4 separate regions of the Homo sapiens genome follow, and regions 2, 3 and 4 are each linked to region 1. Evidence: promoter capture Hi-C in 16 types of primary human blood cells and fetal thymus (Javierre and others, 2016). All regions are on one chromosome and are shown on one strand. The core of a region is centred on a gene start or on the middle of the fragment in contact, and the rest is flanking DNA. Distances in the headings are between cores, read along the strand shown.

The links. Contacts are between HindIII fragments. The CHiCAGO score rates a contact against its expected background, and 5 or more counts as called.
Region 2: a contact is called between the fragment with the promoter of RAB21 here and the fragment with the promoter of ZDHHC17 in region 1, in 5 of 17 cell types (non-activated CD4 T cells, activated CD4 T cells, naive CD8 T cells and 2 more). The highest score is 11.2, in non-activated CD4 T cells.
Region 3: a contact is called between the fragment with the promoter of TMEM19 here and the fragment with the promoter of ZDHHC17 in region 1, in 2 of 17 cell types (total B cells and non-activated CD4 T cells). The highest score is 7.1, in total B cells.
Region 4: a contact is called between a fragment that was not itself captured here and the fragment with the promoter of ZDHHC17 in region 1, in 1 of 17 cell types (total CD4 T cells). The highest score is 5.4, in total CD4 T cells.

Annotation. Positions count from the first base shown.
Region 1 is chr12:76,762,472-76,768,123 of GRCh38, reverse strand. ZDHHC17 (zDHHC palmitoyltransferase 17) reads right to left here and starts at 4,009. Exons shown (of 17, transcript NM_015336.4): 1 at 3,795-4,009. The coding sequence starts at 3,887. RefSeq lists enhancers at 3,662-3,811, 3,003-3,845, 3,821-4,115, 4,412-4,511 and a silencer at 3,862-4,271. The HindIII fragment of the contact is 3,524 bases long and covers 1,820-5,343 here.
Region 2 is chr12:71,752,568-71,758,358 of GRCh38, reverse strand. RAB21 (RAB21, member RAS oncogene family) reads right to left here and starts at 3,496. Exons shown (of 7, transcript NM_014999.4): 1 at 3,071-3,496. The coding sequence starts at 3,229. RefSeq lists enhancers at 2,605-2,794, 3,435-3,724 and a silencer at 3,175-3,454. The HindIII fragment of the contact is 5,965 bases long and covers 1-5,227 here.
Region 3 is chr12:71,682,723-71,689,096 of GRCh38, reverse strand. It overlaps TMEM19 (transmembrane protein 19), which reads right to left and starts at 3,015. Exons shown (of 6, transcript NM_018279.4): 1 at 2,287-3,015. The coding sequence starts at 2,416. It overlaps LOC124902965 (a long non-coding RNA gene), which reads left to right and starts at 3,033. Exons shown (of 2, transcript XR_007063367.1): 1 at 3,033-3,175. RefSeq lists an enhancer at 1,050-1,119 and silencers at 2,468-2,683, 2,674-2,743. The HindIII fragment of the contact is 11,589 bases long and covers 1-5,466 here.
Region 4 is chr12:69,740,807-69,746,663 of GRCh38, reverse strand. The region is part of intron 1 of RAB3IP (RAB3A interacting protein); the gene reads right to left. Among named protein-coding and RNA genes, the nearest start is that of RAB3IP, 4.9 kb to the right of the region's middle. The HindIII fragment of the contact is 1,122 bases long and covers 2,716-3,837 here.

The DNA.
Region 1 (5,652 bases), core at 2,760-5,259:
TCAGAAGGTACAATTTGCTTGGCAGCCTATGTGCCTAGGTCTATGAAAACTGCTTTATAAACATTAGCCTAGTTAATATTCACAATAACTGTAAAAGGTGTCACTATTAACCCAACTTTACAAATGAGAAAAATGTACTTTGACCATGATAACAGTAAGCTGCAGAAGCTACATTTTCAGTTTGTCACCACAGCTTTGGATTTTTTTTTTTTTTAAGAGAGTTTTGCTCTTGTTGCCCAGGCTGGAGTGCAATCTCGGCTCACTGCAACCTCCACCTCCCGGGTTCAAGCAATTCTCCTGCCTCAGCCTCCTGAGGAGCTGGGATTATAGGCATGTGCCACCACGCATGGCTAATTTTGTATTTTTAATAGAGACAAGGTTTCTCCATGTTGGTCAGGTTGGTCTTGAACTCCGAACCTCAGGTGATCCGCCCGCCTCGGCCTCCCTAAACCCTGGGATTACAGGCGTGAGCCACCACGCCCAGCCAACTTTGGCTCTTAACCAGTATTCTACACTGCCTCTCACTGAACACCAAAAATATCCTGAAGTCTCACACAGACTCCAGCACAATTCCTTACCCAAACATGACAAACAAATGTTTAAATGACCAACTAAATGAGTGGATGATTTAATTCATTAAAAAGTAAGATTATCTTACCTAAAATACCTCTAAAAAGGCGTTTATCTAATTGTATAATCCTCTAAGAAAGGTTTTAACAGTGGGCAGTTTGCATACTAATAAGAGATTTAAGCAATGCTCATTTCTTTACCCACAAATAATTCATCTGCTTAACAAATACTAAAGTGAAAAACTGTTTTTGTGTGAGAGTATTAAATTGGAAGATAAAAAGTGAAATGAAATTTGTTCCTGCAAGATCCTATTCCACTAAATTAAAACCCACATAAGTTTTAAATCAGTCACCAAAACCAAAATAAATGTGTAACACTTCCCTTTCTTCTGGTAGAGAAAAAAGAAGTAACATTAACTGAGCACCTACAATGTGCCAGTTCTTGACCCTCAACATATAGCCTCACTTAATCCCTTACAGCCAAGTAAACTAGGCAGCATCTCCATTTTCTTTTCTTTTCTTTTTTTTTTTTTTTTGAGACATAATCTTGCTCTGTCACCCAGGATGGAGTACAGCTGCTCGATCATGGCTCACTGCAGCCTCAACCTTCCAGGCTCAAGCAATCCTCCCACCTCAGCATCCGATTAGCTGGGACTACAGGCGTGTACCACCATGCTCAGCTAATTTTTGTATTTTCTGTAGACACAGAGTTTTGCCATGTTGCCCAGGATGGTCTCGAACTCCTGGGCTCAAGTGATTCTCTCACCTCGGCTTCCCAAAGTGCTGGGACTACAGGTGTGAGCCTCCGAGCCCAGCCAGGATCTCCATTTTCTGATTACAACTGAAGCTTAAAGAAATTAAGCACTTGTCTCAGGTCACTTAGCTAGTTACCGAATTTCCAGAATTAGAATCCAAGTCTGTCTGACCCAAAGTCTATGTTCTCTCCAAAAAGAGGTTAAAAGTACTATTATTTCATTACTTACCAAGACAGAGAATGGGTTTCTTCCCAAAGGAGACTGAAAACACTGCTTATTTTAACAACAAAAACATATTATCTCAGTTAATCCTCGCTATAGCTTATTAACTATTATTTTTATCCATTATAAATGATGAAACTAGAACTCAGAGACGTATTCATAGCTTGCCCAAGAACACACTGCTAGGAGGCAGCAGAACTACCCCAGGTCTGCACCAGCTGCACACACTAACCACAGAAAATGCAGAAAGACCTCAGCCATGTAGTACAAGCTTAAGGTCCATCCAAAGTATTAAAATAATCAGACCTTGTGCTTCTTGGGTAAAAAGGAACGGTATATATTATGTATGCCAATTCCCACTATCAATGATGAGGAGGTTGACTTTCTAGTAATATCCTATCTATCGAATGGCAACCTGAAGATCGGTAGCTAAATTTCAAGCCTATACTGGCCATTCTACTACACCAAATAATCTGGATTTGTTGCCAGTTAAAATTATTCTTAAAGTAGCAAACAACAGTACTATATTACAAAGCAAAGGTTTATGAAGAACAGTATGCTAAAATACGTAAGATAGGCCTGGCATGGTGGCTCATGCCTGTAATCCCAGCACTTTAAGTAGCTAAGGTGAGAGGACCACTTGAGTTCAAGAGTTCAAGACCAGCCTAGACAACATAGGGAGACCTCTTCTTCTACAAATAATAAAAAAATCAGCCGGGTATGGTGGCGCGAGCCTGTGGTCACAGCTACTCAGGAGGCTGAGGGGAGAGGATCACTTGAGCCCTGGAGGTAGAGGCTGCAGTGAGCTGTCATCGTGTCAGTGCACTCCTGCCTGGGGGACAGGGAGAAACCCCGTCTCAAAAAAATAAACTGGATAAACACTTAAGTGTTTGAAATACTTTCACGAATACTTTCACAGGAACAGATGAATAGAAATCACTTAGCAACATTTTCAAGGCAACATCTGAAAACTACTTTGTCTATTTCCTGACGTATGTTAGGGCCTAAGTGAACCAAAAGAGATGTCTACAATGCCAGTTCTGAAAATGTTACCACTTTGGTCAGACAAGTGTTTAGTCTTACTGTATAGTTCTGTTTATCAGAAACCCAGAGTAGCCTTTTCTACTGAGACTGGCACAGGTATATATTCCGAAGGAACTGTCCCATGTGTTTTTGATAAACCAAAGTGACGAATGAGAGGGTGGTTGAGTGTTAACATGCAACATAAAAGGATGGTTGTCATTATTCACTTTTTAACAAAAACTAGTGGCATGGTACAAACCCAAATCCAGAAAAAAACAGAATCACTCCATTGCAAAGTAACCAGGTAGAGACTTCCATGTTTGTTCATCCTACAACACGACTGTCATCTTTTAACCTCATGAAAACTACCCGAGTTCTTCAGCAAACTGTGCCGCTGCCGCATACAGACATCACTGTGGATCACTAAAAATCAGAATGCATCAAGAATTGCTTCCAAGCCTTAACTAGCACTAGCTCAGCTACAAACTCGGAGGTAAACAAGCACAGACTGACTGACTGTGGAGCGGGGCACTGTTTACTTACATGGGAAGACACTCATGTTGTGATGGGAAACGTGTTGCACTGTCCACCCCTAGCTCCTAGAAAAACGGTACTTTGACAAGCTAATGTGAGTGTAAGTCTATTCCCAAAAGTTTTTACCTCTCTTCTTAATCGCTTAAGGACAAATGCTCAAAAAAGGACGCCCGACACAAGGTGCCCGAGGTGCTACCCATGGCATTACCTGGAAGGACATCACTATGCCCATGAAACTGTCCCCTCACAGTGGACTAAAAGGAAGCAATAGATACCGTCATTCACCCTGGCGAAGGAAAAAGAAATCAAAACCAGACGCGCTTCCACCTGGCCCCAAGAGGCTTGGAGCAAGACTAGGGTCTAAGCTGCGGTTCAAAAACCACACCAGGCCCCTCCGCCTCTGCTCTCAAACGCAGCGCGGCGACACAGCAGAACCATCAACACCTCCACCTCTGTCCTCCAGGCACAGCCAGGGACTGCGTCCCAGAGCCCGCCCCGGTCGGGCCCGCCCCGCTATCTCCTCCCCCGTTATCCGCTCGCAGCCGCGCTCAGGCCTGGATTCGCCTCCCCACCCTCCCCAACTTCGGCACGTCCCACTACCCCACACACGTCGGCCGCCGCCCTCGGCGAGTCCGGGGAAGAAAGGCTGGAGGGCCGCAGGGCAAGGAATCCACTCAGCACGGTTCCTCACCTCTGGGTGGAGAAGGGGCACACAGCCCGCTTCGGTATCGTACTCATCCGGGCCGTCCGCCATCTTGGTGTTAAATCCCTCCTCCCGCTGCATGCTGGGAGAAAGCGTTTCACCCTCCCGGGGCTCGGGCGAGGCGGAGGGCGAGCGCGGGGCGAGCGCGAGCCCCGCCGGAGGCGACGCGGGCCTCCTCCTCCTTCTTCTCCTGCCCCCGTGACGCCCCCTCTGTCCCCTCCCCCCTCGGAGGGCGCGGGTTTCTCCGCGCGTGCGCGGAAGCGCGGCCCGGCCCCAGACTGGATCGCGCTCTGCTGCACTGCGCTGGGGACGGCGGAGGGCTCTGGGCGTGGGCCCCGCGGCTCGGGGGCGGGTCCCGGCTGGAGGTAGATGTGAAGCTCTGGCTGCCCGGGGGAGGCGGCCGGGCGGTTGAGACAGTCGCTTGGGAAACCTAGCAGCTGCTCAGGAGCGAGAACAGAGCTCCGGAGCCGCACGCAGCACAAGTCTGGAGCCCCAGGCAGCCGAGGAGCCCACGCCCACGCGCTCCCACTTCCGCTCCGGGACCCCCGGGACCCCTCTTCAGGAACTCGGGCAGAGTCGTCAGCCAGCTCCAGGGAGGTTTGGGCCCGTCAGGCTTGAGTCGAGACCTGCATCATTCCTGAAGACAAAAGCAGCTTCCCTTTCCTCCACACTTGAAAAGGTCACCCGCAACCTGTCCCTCCGGGGGACGCCCGGAAAAACATGGATACAACTCGGGACTTCCTACTAGAGAACCCTTTTTTTTTTTTTTTTTTTTTTTTTTTTTTTTTTAATGAGACAGAGTTTTGCTCTTGCCGCCCAGGCGGGAGTGCAATGGCGCGATCTCAGCTCACTGCAACCTCTGCCTCCCGGTTCAAGCGATTCTCCTGCCTCAGCCTCCCGAGTAGCTGGAATTACAGGTGCACGCCACCACGCCCGGCTAATTTTTGTATTTTTAGTAGAGACGGGTTTTCACCATGTTGGCCAGGCTAGTCTCGAACTCCTGACCTTAAGCGATCCGCCCGCCTCGGCCTCCCAAAGTGCTGGGATTACAGGCTTGAGTCACCACACCCTGCCGAGAACTCTTTTTAAAATGATCCCAACCTGCTCTCAATCGTCTTGAATTAGTACCACACAAAAAATTTACGAGCTCAAAGCCCACACACCGCCATCTGCAACATTTCGATATAATCCAGGAATTCAGAACTGAAGCCACTTAAACTGAATTCGCTTAAATGCAAGGCAGATAAAATGACTAAAGCCATTTTTTAAAGGATTTTAGGGCGGTATGGGGGAGGTGCTCCCTGTAAATGGGCTGATGGGACAGTTTTAGATAGCATTTGTCTTTCCTTTTAGCTGTTAAAAATTGTAAGTCTAAACAGCTGAGAATTTAGCAGAGATCATGAAAGTTGACCTATTAGAGATCCTGGTACTTACTAATCTGTCTCCTGTTAGGCCAGAAACCACCAGGAAAAAGCCTGTACTCCGATAACGTCAGGCCAATTTGTAAATCAGGAGGGAGGGCACTCCAAAGGAAGCTTGGAATGCCACTGGAAAAGGAAAGAGGAAGCCTCCTTTGTAAGATTAGTTTCCCGCCAAAGGAGTCTGAGGAGGGTCTAAGGAGAGCCAGAATCAGTTCTGCATGGGACGCCGTTTCCGTGGCGGCATGAAGAAAAGCTGGGATTTACGAGGGATTGGATGCTGTCTTGAGGATACAGCAATTTAGTAATTAGGTACCTCCAGTAATAAAGTAGCAACACTAGTAAGAGCAGCAGTTACTCAAAGAGGGGTGAATATGGCGTGTCATAGCTACTGCACGGCTGTGGGAGAAAGAAGTTTCTCAGTTAAC
Region 2 (5,791 bases), core at 2,247-4,746, 5.0 Mb after region 1:
ACTGAAAACTACTAAAAATAAAATAGGACCGGAAGTGGTGGCTCACACCTGTAATCCCAGCACTTTGGGAGGCCGAGGCAGGTGGATCACCTGAGGTCAGGAGTTCGAGACCAGCCTGGCCAACACGGCAAAATCCCATCGCTACTAAACATACAAAAATTAGCCAGGCATGGTGGCACATGCCTGTAGTCCCAGCTACTCGGGAGGCTGAGGCAGGAGAACCACTTGAATCCAGGAGGCAGAGGTTGCAATGAGCCGAGATCGCACCCCTCCACTCCAGCCTGGGTGATAGAGTGAGACTCCATCTCAAAAAGAAAAAAAAAAAAATTTAAAAATGAAATGGGACACCTTAGGACAAAGTGAGCTTTCCACTTTCCATAATACCAGTTCATTTCACCTCCAAGATGTTAAAAAAAAAAAGGGGGACAATCACTTGACTAAACATTAGAAGACCAAAATAGTGATCCATACATAACTGTCTTAAATTCCTGTCAATCCTGCAATTCTTTGAAATGTATGAGAATGTACTTTATAAAATACAAAGTAGTTTACATAGACAGGTACTCTGTTGACGAGAAAAAAGGTGAACTCTTCCTCTCATATCTTCTGACATGATTTCCTCTCCATTTGGAAATTAAAAGAATACAAAGTTGTGTCTTACAAGTCACATAAATCAAATTCCTCTGAAAAATTGTTAAGAAAGATGAGGTTAACTGGTATCTCTGAAAGAGATTAGACACATTGCTGTTTACATACATTGGTGTACAACAAAATCCTAAATTCTATAATATAATTCAGATATTAATACTGGATATCTACTATAACTTCATCCTCCCCTCTGTGGAGTACAGTGGCTTTTCATATATTTAAAAACCTTTACTCTGCTTTCAGTTTCAAGAATGTTTTAGAAATTTAAAATGGAAGTGTAATTTTTAAGTTGAAAGGGTATGGCCAGGTGCAGTGGCTCACCCCTGTAATCCCAGCACTTTGGGAGGCCAAGGTGGGCAAATCACCTGAGGTCAGGAGTTCGAGACCTGTCTGGACAACATGGTGAAACCCCGTTTCTACTAAAAATACAAAAAAATTAGCCAGATGTGGTGGCGTGTGCCTGTAATCCCAGCTACTTGAGAGGTTGACGCAGGAGAATCACTTGACCCAGGAGGTGGAGGTTGCAGTGAGTGGAAATTGCTGCACTTCAGCCTGGGCGACAGGGCAAGACTCAAGTTATCTTTTGAAAAAAAACGTGGAGACCTCAATTACAATAGTTTTCTTTTATCTTAGATCTTTGCATAAAGGAAAACACTAGATGGGTTATTTATCAATATACCGAGGTAATGTGATTTAATTGCTCAAAATCTGAAGTCAGACAGGGGTTCAAATTTGAGCTTGGACACTCCTGCCCCATTGACTTGTGGTAATATTACTGCCAGCAAAATTACTCAACTAAACGTTTTTCCTCAGCTGTAGGGCTATCCACTAAACTATCCACTTCATAGGGTGTTATAAGAATTAAAGCAAGCAGACAGAAAGCAAGCAAAATAATCAGCACAGTAAGAACTCACTAAATGTTAGCTATTGTTACTACTTTACCTAAGTAAATCTCTAAACTTCCAAATGATCCTAGGTATTTGTCCAGTGAATTTTCTTGATCTAAAACACCAGGCTCTCACTAATGACACTGAACAATAACAATTCATTATTAAAATTTTGTCAGTGTTCTGGTACAAGGATTTTTTAAAAATGCAGTTTCCTGGCACTCACTTTTTCAGATATGCTTTACATACGAGTAAAATCAGAGGAGTAAAAATAGAACATGGAATCAGAGCCAGAGCGTCTTGTAAATTCTAGACTCAGTAGTTTAATAATAGCATCAAACATCCAATGTCACAACAATTAGGAGATTACGCATTCTATTAAGTAGTGTCGATGTTCTCACATACTACACATTTACTAATTAAGACCTATTGTGCAAGTTGGGGCGGTAATTAAAGGCAGACAACTTACACTGGACCAGGTCATCAGTGCTTTTTCTGTATATTTATCCTGACAACCCTATGAGCTAGATACTACTATTATGGCCATTTTAACAGAAGAAACAGGCACAGACAGGTTAAGTAACTTACCCAGTATGACACAGCTAGTTAAATGGATGGAGGTGAGACATGAACCTGGACAATCAGGCTCAAAAGTCCACTAGACTTTACTGCCTTTGACCAAATTGGTAAGTCAAATTAGTAGGATAAATTTCTCCTAATAACATCAAAACTGATTTCTCTGGGAGAGGTGGGGTGAGTACAACTCCCTCAAAGGCCTGGCTTCACTCTCAATCAATGATAACATTTTAACACCTTTCCAATGTACCTGTGGAAGAAAGCCGACCTTTTATTTTACAGGTAAAGAAACTGAGTAACAGCAGCGGCTTTTAGTCTGGGGACCAATTGTTGGCCAGTATTCACTTGATGTTTCAGCGTGGGTCAATCGACCTCGCAGAATATGAGTGACCCGCAAGTCAGACCCACGCAGGCTGCAATGAAACTGCGTAACACGCCTAGGCAAGCGGTCATTTCAAAAAACCTCCAGAGATGGCTCTTTTGCCATTCCTGTTACTCAGGACAAAATGGAACTTGCATAAACACTTAGTCATCAGTAAGCGCTGAAGTTACAAATCACCTAATTCGCAAAATCAAATACGCAGCTAAGTTCCTAATTCTGAAAGAAAGAAAAGGAGCTAACATTTGGAGACTGCAACACTGACACCTGGGACCCAGGAACTGCAGTAAATGGGAAAAAACAGCCCACGGACGGAGACCACAACGTGCGCAGCCACCACGGGGAACACTGGGGACTTTTCAGGGCCCTTCCACTTCCCTCCCAACAGCCTGTCCTCGCGTCTACAGGCTGCCCCGACCTGGTGATTCCCCAGGGCGAATTCGGAAAGGTAAACCGAAGGCGGAGATGACAGGCCTGAGATTTGCCAGCCTACATCCAGGGGACCAGGGCGGCAAAGTTTCCCCAGCCCCGGAGGGGTAGGGGCCCTGAGGCGCCCCCTCCCGCTCCCCGAGGTCCGCACCTGCAGAGTGGTGATGTGCTTGTCGTTAAACTTGTTCTCGCAGTAGCGCAGCACCAGCGACGTCTTCCCCACGCAGCCTTCCCCCAGCAGCACCACCTTGAACGAGTAGGCTCGGCCCGCCGCCGCCGCCCCGCCGCCGCCGCCGCCGGCCGCAGCCATCCCGTCGCTTCCCGGCCGCCCGAGCCCGAGTGTCGCGCCGCCCTCCCGACAGCCGCGGCAGCGCCTTCACAGCCACGGCCGGCTCAGCCCCCACCGCCCCGGCCCCGCCGACCCGGGCGCTGTCCCCACGCCCTCCTCGGGCGAGGCCTGGAAGGGCTGAGGGAAAGTCCGAGAATGAAGGGCCCCAGCCCACCACGTCAGGCACCGGAGGAAAAGCGAAGAACGATCCCTCTCTGCCTCCCTCTAATGGCGTCTCCTTCCTCCTACGTCACACCTCGGGTCACGTGAGCGCCGGTGCCGGGGCGGCCCCTGCGACTAGCCCCAGAAGAACGTGCCTGGACGTGGGCGGGGCTTCTGGGGCATCTCCCGGGGTGGAGCTGGATGTGAGTCGAGCGCCTACTGGCAATCTAGGGCAGAGCCCCGCCGCTTGCGAGCCACCTCTGCTTTTCAGTTGGTGGGAGCCAGCGGGAATAAGGAACCAGGAATTTGAGGCGAGCCCAGCTCTGGTGAAATGAAGGGCAGAACTTCATCGTTTTTGCATGTTCACAATGCTAATGATCTGTCACACCAGAGGTCACTGTAAACCATATCTGCCAAGGTGCCCTTGAATCTCTCTCTGTGGGATCCCGAATCATAGCGCTTCCAAGTTCCTCTGACCGCCTGGTCAACTACTCCATCATCTTTCAAGTCTCAGCTTAAACCGCGTCCCTGACCACCCAATCCTTCCCCCATCCTTCCATTCCCCCACCTCACAAAATTAGGTATTTCTTACCACCAGTATACCTCCTTTACTAGGGCTTTACACACTCCATGGATATTATTAATACTTTGCTAAGTGTTTATCGACTCTCATTAGACTATAGGTTTGTTGAGGGCAAGGTCTGTATAAGAGCTGCCCACCTTTGAATTCCTAACCCCAAGTGCTCTTCAGTTTTTCTGACTTTCATGAAGCCTCTGACGTTCCATGGTACTCCACCTTGAGGTGGCTTGTTCGATGATTGCTTGTTTTTTCTCATCTGCATCCCCATTCTTTTTTGTTTGTTTGTATTGTTAGTTTTGAGATGGAGTATCGCTCTGTCGCCCAGACTGGAGTGCAGTGGCGTGATCTCAGCTCACTGCAGTCTCTGCCTCCTGGTTCAAGTGATTCTCCTGCCTCAGCCTCCCGAGAAGCTGGGACCATAGGCGCCCACCACCGCGCCCCGCTACTTTTTGTATTTTTAGTGGAGACAGGGTTTCACCATGTTGGCCAGGCTGGTCTTGAACTCTGACCTCAAGTGATCCACCTGCCTCGGCCTCCCAAAGTGCTGGGATTATAGGTGTGAGCCACCACGCCCGGCCTGCCTCCAAGAAACCATACTCCTCCAAGAAATCATACTAATATTTCTGAAAATTTACTGGAAACCTGGTGTCAGGTAAACATTTTTTTAAAAATCAAACTTCTTTCACACTTCAAACCAGGTTAAAAAAAAAAAAAGAGGCCGGGCGTGGTGGCTCATGCCTGTAATCCCAGCACTTTGGGAGGCCGAGGCGGGCGGATCACAAGGTCAGGAGATCGAGACCATCCTGGCCAACATGGTGAAACCCCATCTCTACTAAAATACAAAAAATTAGCTGGGCATGGTGGCACAAGCCTATAATCCCAGCTACTCGGGAGACTGAGGCAGGGGAAGCGCTTGAACCCGGGAGGCAGAGGTGGCAGTGAGCCGAGATCGCGCCACTGCACTCTAGCCTGGCGACAGAGGAAGACTCCGTCTCAAAAAAAAAAAAAAAAAAAAAGAGAGTCGGTTAATTCATTCAACAAATATTTAAATGTGCCCACCATATGCCAGGCACTGTGATCAACAAGATAAAATGTCTCTGTCCTCACAGAGCTTACATTTTATCAGGGAAGACAGACATACTCAATTGTACAATAAATGCTTTCATCTTGATGAAACAGTTCAGAGTATCTTGCAAGCATATATGAGAACCCAACTGATTTAGCATGCTAGAGAAGCTTTCCCTGGAGAAAGTTATCTTTGGGTAAGAGTAACCTAGTCAGGAAGGACAGGAGAGCTCTGCAAACAGAGATAACAGCATGTTCAATGGCTTTAGATAGGAAGGAGCATCTAAAGTTGAGCAACTGTAAATGTGACTAGAATTTAGGGAGGAAAAAAAAACTCCAGAAGAGACCATGAGGAAGTTGGGGATCAATACTGAAAGGGTCTTTAAGCAAATGAAGGATTTTCGTAAGATGACTGACATAATCAGATTTGACCACTCTGGCTATCATTTGAAAAGTGAATTGGAGAAGGATAATATTTTAGATTTGTTTAGAACCAACCATTAAAGAGACTCTATGTTTTATAAAATATCCTCATGATTGTATCTAAAGATATATTTTCCAACTCTCTCCTCCACATTCCTCCCCTTAGGGTCTTTGCACATTTATAGACACTTCCAGAACTAGAAAAGAACTTCATTTTGAGAGAGCACCTTCCATTGTTCTTTCTGAGCACTTCCTCATATTGGATTGAAATCTGCCTCTCTTCACCTGCAATTAATTATTTCTGTTTATATTTA
Region 3 (6,374 bases), core at 1,766-4,265, 5.1 Mb after region 1:
GGAGAAACAGTCTTACTGGAGAATGGCCAAATAGGTTATGTCCAAGTTTTGAAAACCTTTTACTGCTATTTATGATAATAATGGATATCTAGATATTTAAAATGAACCTCTGGTTCATTTTTTTTAAAGGGGGCACGTATTAAATTTCAAGGACTACCTAGAACGAACTCTTTTTGTAACAGGATCTTACTCCTCTCTGCCTGTCAGAGGACAGACACCTCATTCAATGGTTAGAAATTGATTATTCCAGAGGCTGCATCCAGCTCACAGATGTTTGGCTAGCAGAGTGTTTTCAAATAATTTTAGTCAATATTTAAAGATTAGGAGATATCATATAAAAATCCAGATTCTTGGCTTCTGTTTTAAAATTGGGAAGTTCTGGCCAACATGGCAGAATTGACTTAAGGTAAAGAGAGGTGCCCTCCTTTAAACAGGCCGTGGCTTTCCCATTTAAAGTTCCCACCCCTCCTGATAGGCTCCTAAACGCCAAGGCAAAGTGATTTCCTTATGGTAAAGAAAACTGTGAACCACTGCTTGTATCTATGTTTCTATCAAAAATGAGAAAATGGGCCGGGCGCAGTGGCTCATGCCTGTAATCCCAGCACTTTGGGAGGCCAAGGCAGGAGGATCCTGAGGTCAGGAGTTCGAGACCCAGCCTGGCCAACATGATGAAACCCTGTCTCTACTACAAATACAAAAATTAGCCAGGCATGGTGGCAGGCACCTGTAATCCCAGCTACTTGGGAGGCTGAGGCAGGAGAAACCAGAAGGCAGAGGTTGCAGTGAGCTGAGATCGTGCCACTGTACTCCAGCCTGGGCAAAAAGAGCGAAACTCCGTCTCAGAAAAATAAAGGGGAAATGAAAGACAAAGAGGGCCCAAGCATTCAACAAAAGATGAGAAATATCCTATTTCTGGAAATGAAAACTATTACCACAGGTCTAATACACAAAAACGTACACAGATTCATTTGCATTAGGTGACTGGCCCCAGAGGGATATTTCAGTTTACAAATCCTGATTTATTCCATTTAGTTCAAGTCATAGTAAATACTGTCACTAACAAGAATCTTTTCTTACACCCCTCCCCTAAAACTCTGATGCCCCACTGTGAATCATTATGAACGAACTGCACTGAGAGCTTCTGTAGCCTGGAGAACCCTTTCCAACTATTCACATGTCTCTTTGCAAAAAGCCTACAGTCTGAAATGGCAATCCCTTACGATACAAGCATTCTCATTCTCCTTTTCATTTTTCCTTTGTTGCAAACTGACCAGTATTTTGTTTTCATAGGAGAAGGAAGTTTGTGTAAATGGAGGCTTATGCTCTAAAGCACCTTTAAAACTTTAAAGATCTGAGTCCAGAGTACCTTATATTTAAGCAATGTAGCTTTAGGCTTTAAAAGGAGTCTATTCTTTTGAAGCAACCAAATGGCAGATAAGTCCTTCAGCTCTCCAAATGTAAATAGTATACCGTTTTTAATTCTTATTATTTTTACAGAACATGTGAAACTGATAAACTACATTACTACTTTTTTTTTTTTGAGACGGATTCTCGCTCTGTGGCCCAGGCTGGAGTGCAGTGGCTCAATCTTGGTTCACTGCAACCTCCGCCTCCAGGGTTCAAGTGATTCTCCTGCCTCCATCTCCCAAGTAGCTGGGATTACAGCTTTTTTCTAGTTTTAGTAGAGCTGGGGTTTCACCGTGTTGGCCAGGCTGGTCTTGAACTCCCGACCTCAGGTTATTTGCCCGCCTCGGCCTCCCAAAGTGCTGGGATAACAGGCGTGAGCCACCGCGCCTGGCCCATTACTAATATTCTTATTCAAAATTAAAAGCATCACTGTAATTGCTTTACAAAGCTATATTCGCCTCACTTATCTTTTACCAAGACAGATGGAATAGTTACATAAAATATAAAGACATTTTGAAATAGGTGTAACTAGTCCAGAAGTGGTGGCCTGTATTGCCAGCACTTTGGGAGACACAGGTGGGAGGATCACTTGAGCCTAGGGGTTTGAGACCAGCCTAGCAACACAGAGGGACCCCTATCTTATACAAAATAAAAATTAAAAAAAAAAAGAAATAGGTATAACTCGAATTATCACAACAAGCATTTATTAAAGGCATTGTTTATACTATCATGTTAGTAAGTTAAATCAGGCTATGGAAGTTAAGTAAACACAACCATTCATAACCATTCAGAGGATATGAGTTTTGGATTTCACAATGGTATGGTTTTAATTTCCTCTGACTAGATTACAGAGAAACAACTTAGAACACTCAGACTTACCATAATAGGTGCTTGCAGTCATTGATATAATCCAGAAAGCTAACGAAATGCAAATGATCAGGCTCAGTATAACTATATTAGTTATCATCTTTATATATCTTTTGCATATATTGTCGTTAAGATCTGTCATGGAAAATAAGGATATGAGCTCCTGCGGGAAAGAATATTTAGCGTTTCGGAGAGAAAGTCATTTACGATGTGAGCAAGACACTTGTTCAGAGGCAAACATAAATCCCAACATATTCCACCGACCAAACAAGCATAAAAATCACAAAAATTCAAACTCCTTCCGGAAACTCCTACTGGCGGAGAGCTCCAATTCATATGGGCGTGGTCAACGCCTCACCGCAAAAGCAGAGCGCAACCCGGCGGACGGTGAGGGCCGGTCGCCGGCTGCCGGCCGCTTCAGCGCCTCACGCCGGAGCCCACGGGGAAAAGAGAAAGCCGAGGCAGCCAATCCGCGGTCCCGGCGCTGGCGAGTTCCACCCACCTCCCGTCGCAACCTTCTCACCCGCGGGCCGGGTAGGCCAGCGGCTGCAAAGGGGCAGCTAGGGCACCCGAACTTGGGCAAGTCTGGGAAGCACGCCCGACGCGGCTGAACGCAGTCACGTCCCGACAGCTGCGCAAGCCGCCCTAGGGTCAGGTCCAGCCGGCCAAGGCCGAGACCCCAGGAGCAAAGCCCGCGCCTCCCGGCGCCCCCGCCTCTAGCGCCTCGCCCGCTGTGGGCATGCGCCGCAGCCGCTTAGGGGGATGTCGCCTAGCTCACGTGGGCAGGCACTGCTGGCATCCTGGCCGGCTGCGTTTGCACTGCTTCTCCAAAACCACATTATAGGTACTAAACAACATTGTTTAGTACCTATAATGTGCTAGACTCCTGGCTGCTAGCGAGGTAAAGTTAAACATAGTTTCTATTACTGAGCTCTCGTAATTATTGTCATAACACCACTTAGATTGTGGAAATATCTGTCCTCACACCCCTTATATTAAAGGTGTGTGCATTTAGAAAGCAAAACGTCTTGTTAGCATTAAAAATCTGAATCGTGGCTGATTTCTTTTCTTTTCTTTTTTTTTTTTTCGAGACAGTGTCTCTCTCTGCCGCCCAGGCTGGAGTGCAGTGGCACGATCTCTGCTCACTGCAACCACCGCCTCCCAGGTTCTAAGCGATTCTCCTGCTCCAGCCTCCGGAGTAGCTGGGATTACAGGCGCCACAACCACGCCCGGCTAATTTTTATATTTTTAGTAGAGACGGGGTTTTGCCATGTTGGCCCGGCTGGTCTCGAACTCTTGACCTCAGGGGATCCACCCACCTCGGCCTCCCAAAGTGCTGGGTTTAATGGCGTGAGCTACAGCGCCCGGCCTGATTTCATGTTTTATGTGAAATTAACTTGTTTGCCTGGGTTAACAGTAATTAACTGATAATTACATAATATTTATCAATTTTTTCAGTTAATTGCTGACAGTGTAAGAAGAGGAGCCAAATCCATTTCAGACACAGTATGCAATTGTGTTTTAAGCCCCAAGAGTAGTTACTTTAAAAAAGCTCACATTATTTTAAATTTCAAAATACATGCCAAGACAGCTTGTCATTTTCTTTGGTAAGACATCTAATTAAGTAGTTAACTAAGAATCAAATCTGTGAAGTAGGACTAAATAGTAGTGGGCTTCCTGTACTAGATAATATACATATATGGTCTTTATGCTGAAATGTATTATGTGCCTACTTTATTTTTGTCTTAGTCTGTTCTGCATAGGTAAATGTTTGGATTATTTCACCAAGCTGACTGGCCAGTATCAATGTTACCAGACTACTGGGTAAAATTATTAATAATGAAAGCTAATGTTTTGTGGTTTGCACAGTCGCATTGTTTTTGTCTCTGCTTAGACAAAATTATAAACTGGTCTTTTTTTTTTTTTTCTTTTTTTTGCCTTGCTTCACCACAGTCACAGAGTGACCCTCTCTGATTAGTTGGTGTTCGATAGGAAAATCATAGCCTAGTTGTGAATGTCAAGCTATCTCCCAACACTGTGGTGTAGCTGTGTCAGGTCAGTCCCTGGATGTCAGGGATGATTTTCTCATGACTATTAGATCTGGCTAAAAAATGCATATTAAATAGTAGTGTCAGTGAACTGACCCTTTAGATGAATATTTTCCCTTCTATTTTTTTCAGTGACCAATTATAGATGTTTTTCTCCATAAAAGTTATTCTAGCTTAAGACCAAAATAATTTAGAGGAGTTAATATAATTAAAATACAGTAGTTCTTATATGCAATAGGCAGTTTCAGTTACCAAGGGTTAAACATGATCTTGAGGCAGGAGAATAGGGTCTCCTATTGAGGCAGGGAACCTAAGGCCGATTCATGCTGACTTCCTAGAGCTAAATCAAAAGGAAAACCCCAACTTCCCATACCTAAGTAACAAAAGGACCCAAAGCTACGCCCTTTGCAAACCCCTCTTTTTTTCTGCGTGGCAGATAGAAAATTGAAAGTATCTCTGCTTGGTAGCTTTCTGCAACCAATCAGACGTTTGCGTAGGAGTGTAACTTTGTAACTTTGCTTCAGCCTCTAATTGGTTGTTTTTCACAACCAATCAGACTGATTGTGGGCTAGTACTTCATTTACATTTACATAAGGTGTACACCAAGTAACCAATGGGAAACCTCTAGAGGGTATTTAAACCCTAGAAAATTCTGTAAGGAGGCCCTTGAGCCCCTATGCTCAGATGGTTCCCACCCTGTGGCGCGTACTTTTGTTTTCAGTAAATCTCTGCTTTTGTTGCTTCATTCTTTCCTTGCTTTGCTTGTGTGTTTTTCCAGTTCTTTGTTCAAAACACCAAGAACCTGGACACCTTCCACCGGTAACAATCCGAAAATATTAAAAAGAAAATTCCAGAAATATTCATAAGTTTTAAATTGCATGCCAAAGTAGCATGATGAAATCTCATGCCATCCAGCTCCATCCCACCTGGGACGTGAATCCTCCGTTTATCTAGCATATCCATCCATGCAATAGACATTACTCTCTTGTTAGTCACTTAGGAGCCATTGCAGTTATCAGATGGACTGTTGCAGTATCACAGTGCCCTTATTTTAGTTCTATTACAATATATTGTTATAATTGTTCTATTTTATTATTAGGTATTCCTCCTAATCTCTTACGGTGCCTAATTTATACATTAAGCTTTATCATAGGTATATAGGAATTGGAAAAAAATAGTATATATAGGGTTTGGTATTTTCCAGGGTTTCAAACATCCACTGAGGGTGTTGGAATGTATCTCCAAGGATAAAGGGAGTGGGAGGGGCTCTTGTATACTTTTAAAAAATCACGATTTTACTGTTACAATTTTTATAGACTATCAATCTTAAAAATTTCAACAAAGTCTTTGTTTTTCTATTTACTTTGGAAGCCATTTTCTGGCAATGGAAAATTTCTGGTTAGGCATTTCCTAAACTATATTTTTTAACTTAATAGTAGTTATTCTTTGTTATTAGTAGGCATCCCTACCACTCAAAAGATACCTGTGATCAAATTTAAGGTTGAGAAATGTTGTCTCTACATGGGATAGTTAGAGTGTATTATTAATGACTCTAAGAAGTTAAGAAACAAACACATTTGTTTAAATGGTTCCAACAGTTAATTGTCTTCATCAGATTTATTTCCTGTAGAAAACATGCAGTTTGAGACTTACTATAGCAATCATAGAATAAACTGAAAGTTCATTGTTGCGCTGATCTTTAAATTTCACAATATAAATACCCATTTATGGTTAAGTGCTCTTTGATATAAAGTTTGGATTTTTCTATGATAGACATTTATATTCAATACCAATCACAAAAATTATCCTAATGTCAAAAAGCACTTACTGTGTGATAGGAAATTATCAGATTTTATTTACAATCCCTTTGAATCTAATTCAAAGGGATTGGTTTAGATTTTCTGAAATGTGCGAATATTTGAGTGATTTGAGTGCCAACACACATACACCACATGTGTATGTGTGGTGAAGGAGCATAGCAGATGAAAATGGACATGTAGACAATTACATTATAAAAAGATGATGACTTTATCCAAGTCATATATAAACAGG
Region 4 (5,857 bases), core at 2,027-4,526, 7.0 Mb after region 1:
CATATATGTGATAAATTATATTTATTCTTGTTGGAATGGAAGGATGATTGCCAGCTTCAACACCTCCGGGCAAATCCTGATACTAAGTGCTAAGAATACAGATACAAATGGACCAAAGAGATGGCACACAGCCTCTACGAGCCACGGCATGATTATTCTGAGGGTTGTGGGGAGGGAAGAGGGAAGAGGAGAATGTCTCAAAGAGAAGTAAAATATAAGTCAGATTTTCAGTGCTGAATACAAGTCCAGTAGATGGGCAAGGGGAATAGGATAGGACAGTCAGGGAATAAGGGTCTGGCACTAACAAAACTAACAAAGGAGACAGTAACAGAAAAGCAGGCTGGAGAGGCAGACTGTGACAGACCATTAAAAGCCTTCTTTAAAAGAGAAAATGTTGCTTAAAGTTTATCCTGAAGAGATGGTGAGATCTACATTTTAGAAAGTATAGATGTATTGTAATGTAGTCATTTAAAAATGACTCCCAAGGCAATGAGAACTTCACTGGAGACTAGAGGCTGGTTAAACGATTACTGTCTGATCTAATGCCAAGGTCATGCACTGGGAATGAGGGGATGGAGGCATATATACGTATGGAAAACATTCAGAACAGCTTCATTTATATTTATTCACAAACACACAATTATTCCAGTTAATCTTCAGAGCATTCATTTGAAATGGTTCTTATCCCTACTTTACAGATATATAAAAAAAAGAGGCTGAGAGAGATTAATTTTGTCAAATACACAAAAAGTAACAGAGCTAGTATTCAAACTCTGGTGTGTCTGACTCTAACACCTAACTCCACTACATCTGAGATACACTTAGAAGCTGAAATGGATAGGGAGTAGGGAGATGGGAATAAAGGTTAAAGCACAGCAAAGGATCTCTAAGAAGTGAACAATCCTGGGTGCAGTAAACCACCATGGCACGTGTATACCTATGTAACAAACCTGCATGTTCTGCACATGGTATCCCAGAACTTAAAGTTTAAAAAAAAAGAAGTGAACAATCCAAACAGAATAATAATGTTTAATCTCTGAACCCTTCTCTTACTTTCACAAAGACAAAACTGAAGTTTCTCTAAAGCACTGCTATTGAAATGAGCATTTGCTATTGCTTTGTGTTCTATTATTTTCCCCTATATTATTTTTGTTATCATTTCCTCCTCTGTTTTGTTACTATGCCAGAATTTAATACTTATTCAGCTCCTTACAGGACTTGGAAAAAAAAAAACAGCACATAAATCAAAATAAACAGAAACTTGAATTTACTATAGTACCCATATTCCTGTGTATTTTTTTAAAAAGTGTAGATATTTTATACCAAGGAATTAGTGTTAATTTTTGAAAATTTGTAATAATAAAAGCAGGAAATGTAGATTAAAATGAAAAAATAAATAAAGAACAAAGTTTGTAAAAGTACTGCAGTTAACTGCTCTTATCTTTGGGAAATACTGAAATACCTACAGGTGAAATTACACAGGACTTGCAATTTGTTTCAAAATAATATAGAAGTGGGAGAAGTGGATGGATGAGGACTGATCACTGTTGATAGTTACTGGGCTACATGATGGAAACTTTTAGGTTCATTATACTATTGTGTCTACTTACCTTATTTGAAACTCTCCATAATTTATAGTGCTCTCAAAATAAAAAGGAAAGTTCAAAATTTATTCAAATACTGTATAATAAAGGAGGAAAAAACAAAACAAGTATATATATAAAATCATTTTTTCATTAGCTTTCATAATAATTTTAAAGTTGGCTTCCCAAACTAGCATTTTAGTTATGACAAAAAAAATCACATTTATCTTTTAAGAAGCATTCTATGTTTATAAATGCAAATGTAATTAATAGCCCAAGGGCAAAATTACTCAAATGGTCAATCAGGCTACACAATTTTCCCATTTTTATTATAATAGATCACAAATGAATTCCCACTAATTCCACAATACTTTTTTTTTTTTTTTTTTGAGATGCAGTCTCGCTCTGTCGCCCAGGCTGGAGTGCAGTGGCACAATCTCGGCTCACTGCAACATCTGTCTCCTGAATAGCTGGGATTACAGGCGCCTGCCACCACACCCAGCTAATTTTTTGTATTTTTAGTAGAGATGGGGTTTTGCCATGTTGACCAGGCTTGTCTCGAACTCCTGACCTCAAGTAACTGTCTGCCTCAACCTCCCAAGTGCTGGGACTACAGGTGTGAGCCACCATGCCCGGCCTAATTCCACAACACTTCAATGTACAACCTGACATGTGTAGAGATGTTAGTTATTGCAGTGTGTTATGTTGACAGTTTTCAGAAAATGTTCTGAACTTATGAGCTAATATTATATTTAATTACAAATAATTATTTGTAATAATACAATGAGCTAATATTTAATTACAAATATTTATTTGTAATTAAATATTTATTTAAATTAACAGAACACCGCATGTTCTCACTCATAAGTGGGAGATGAACAATGAGAACACACGGACACAGGGAGGGGAATATCACACACCAGGGCCTGTGGGGGAGTGGCGGGCTAGGGGAGGGATAGCATTAGGAGAAATACCTAAGGTAGATGATGGGTTGACCGGTGCAGCAAACCACCATGGCACGTGTATACCTATGTAACAAACCTGCACATTCTGCACATGTATCCCAGAACTTAAAAGTATAATTTTTTAAAAAAATCATTTTCCAAATTTCTTTTTCTCAATAATGGAAGCTTCATTTTACATATTCTCTTAAGAATATATGCCAACTAAACATTCAACAGGTGCTGAAATACGCACTGACTAAATAAATAAACAAGAGTCTTTAGAGAAGGAATGAATAGCAAAGCGGTAAAGAGTGGAGACAGTTATTCAGGCTACATTTTTGCTGAAAAAGATAGAAATGAAACAGTAAATACTTTGCGAGAGTATCAAAACTGGAGAAATTGAAGTTTGAGAAAACCTGAGCATTTTAACAGACTAACTTCAGAAAACCTTCCTTCTAGTTCAGATTCTGTCACTGACAAGCTGTGTGAACTGACGCAAGTCATTTAATCTCTCTAAGGTTCAGTTTTGACATCTATAATGGTAGTGATATTATCTCCCCTGCCTACATTTGAGAAAATCAAATGGCATATCAATGTAAAAATGTATACATTGTAAAGCACAACATAAATGTATGATTTTATAAAGATCTAAGAAAGAAAAAAATGTAATGGGGGAAATAGCAAAAGCATACTGAGGGGTTTGTCTTACAAATCAGAAGGTATCTTTATTTATCTTAGGTAAAAGGAAAGAAAGGGAAAACTAGTCTTTATGAGGCATGTAGTTCAAATATGATTCTTTTCCCCACAGGGAATTGATACAAATTTGCTTATTGTTTTTTCAAACTTATTTTGGTTTTTCTTTTATACTTTATCCTTATCTGACAACCAGATGCTCCCAAACAAATATTCAATACTATTACTTTTATCTGGGCATATCAAATTACAATTCACTTATTTAAGTGGTTCTAAGCTATCATCTATATGCTCCTTTATGCTCATAGGGCATTCTCACATTCTTGAATAGTTTCTTCATACTAAGCTGTCAATTCATATACTTATTTGTGTATGTATCCATACCCCTCAGAGGAATTTCATCAACTGCCATTATGATTATATTTACAATCCTACTGTTAACGACAAGCATCAAATCTTTCATGAACTTGAACTATTTGAATAATTTTCATTCTTTTTCCTCTAAGTAATATCAGTTTACGGCTATAGTTATCTAATTTCGTGTTGCCCTATATTCTAAGATAAATCAGATTACTTTTTCCACTTTTCTCTAACCATGACTATGTACGATGTAAGCTTATAAAACTACCTCATTTAGTGGTAAGTTGAAAAGGAAAGCAGAAGGGAAAATAGAGATAGCAAGTTAATGCTCCCAGTTGTATAAATATCTTCCTCTTCCTTCCTTTGTCCCTTCATTTCTCAATGTTCATTTCAATTTCTACTGCTAGAGCAGCTTCAAAACATCCTAACATTCTTCAACTGATCATCCATCACCAAACACAGCACAGTACTTACCTGGCCCGATGTTAAAGCTATAAAATGAGGTAAGCCCTACTCTCGAAGCACTTGTAGACTAGAGGAAGAGACCACCTTGCCAATAAACATGTTTCTAGGGCCCTAGAAACAATTACAAATACAACACAAATATCAAAGTTCATAAATACCAAAAAAGAGGTACTCAGTATTATAAAAGCATAAAATTTTTAAAAAGAGTACCATCTGGTACAACTAAGGATAGTAGCATAAAAAAGGAGAAACAAGCTAGAAAGCAGTTTACAAAAGCTCAGATATTTTGTTTTTAGGATATCAAATGCGTAGTAACCAATTTACTATCCTTTGATGAACTGCATCTTAATCAGAATTATATCGGAAAAAAGTTTAGTGTGAAAAAGCGTACTCCCTTGGAATATCTTCAAAGCTTTCCCTCATTACCTCAATGCACAAATATCTCTACCCACTATCCATCTGTCCTTCCTCTCCACTACTCAACTATCCTAGCACTTTGTCTTAGTTGACATTCATTAAAATATGTAAAGTGCGTTCTACATTTTGAAGAACTTATAAAAGATATGGGAATGATTATAAGGCCCTACCTTCCATATTCCTTAAGAACAGTTTCCTTTAACCCCTACTGTGACTTGCAGAGTAGATGCTCAATGAGTATTTGATTTAAAAAAATCTCTGGTGACACAATGAGAATTACATATTACATTAACATTACGTATCTCATAAAAGCTAAATTACAAAGTTCTTCAGCATTATAAGCTACACATAAAGAAGTGATAATGTAGTGATTATGAGCAAACAATTCTTTAGCATTACCACTTATACATGAAGAAATGACAGAGTGTAGTGGTTAAGAGCACAGACATGGAAGACAAACTGTCTGACATCTAATCTAGACCTGTCACTTAATTAACTATGTGACGTTGAGCAAACTACATAAGGTCTCAGGGTCTCAATTTTCTCAACTACAAAATAGGGATAAAGTATTATCTCCTCGCTCACTCTGAGAGTAAATGAGTATAAAGCTTACACCAGGACTTCGCTTGATAAGCACTAGACTTAAAAGTAACTGTAGTAGCAATGCTGGTATCACCGTCTTCAGAAAACTTGGATATTTTTAAACCAGAAATACAAATGGTAACACTTGTCATCTGTGTGCCTCCTTATAGTTACAAAGCTCTTTAATAGAAGGTGCAGACCAGGAATGTAAGAAACAAAAGCACTACGTTCCATTTTGGGCAGTCGGATACAGTTTTTAATACCGGCTCTGTCACTGGCCAGCTGTACGACCACCTACAACTAAGTAACCATAGACAAATTATCGCAACTTTCTAAGCCTCCATTTCCTGACTTGTAAAATTTGATAAACCACCTATATCCCGGGAATGTCCAGAGGACTGAGGAGTCAAGGTATCGAAAACAAGCACACACAGTGCCTTGCACACAATCAAGCTCACACTGGTTCCTTCTCCCCTTCCCCACATCTCTAATGGAGTATGTTATTAAATCCTCATCTTACCATTATGAAGTTCATATTAGGTTGAAACATAAAAAACAGCAGAATATTAGCAATTTCAACCTAATAGTATTTCCACTGACAAATGGAGAAAATAAGCTCAAACAGGTTAAATGTTTTACTCAAGGTTTTATGCACAGTAAGTGATGGAGCTGAACATTAAATAATTTTTCATTCAGCCAGCTCACTAATTTGTTCACTGACTCCTGTTGAGGAGGAAAAAAGTATAGTAACTACTATAATGCATATAAAACTACTGTAATCTACAAAGTATTTTTTCGTGCCATATTTAAAAA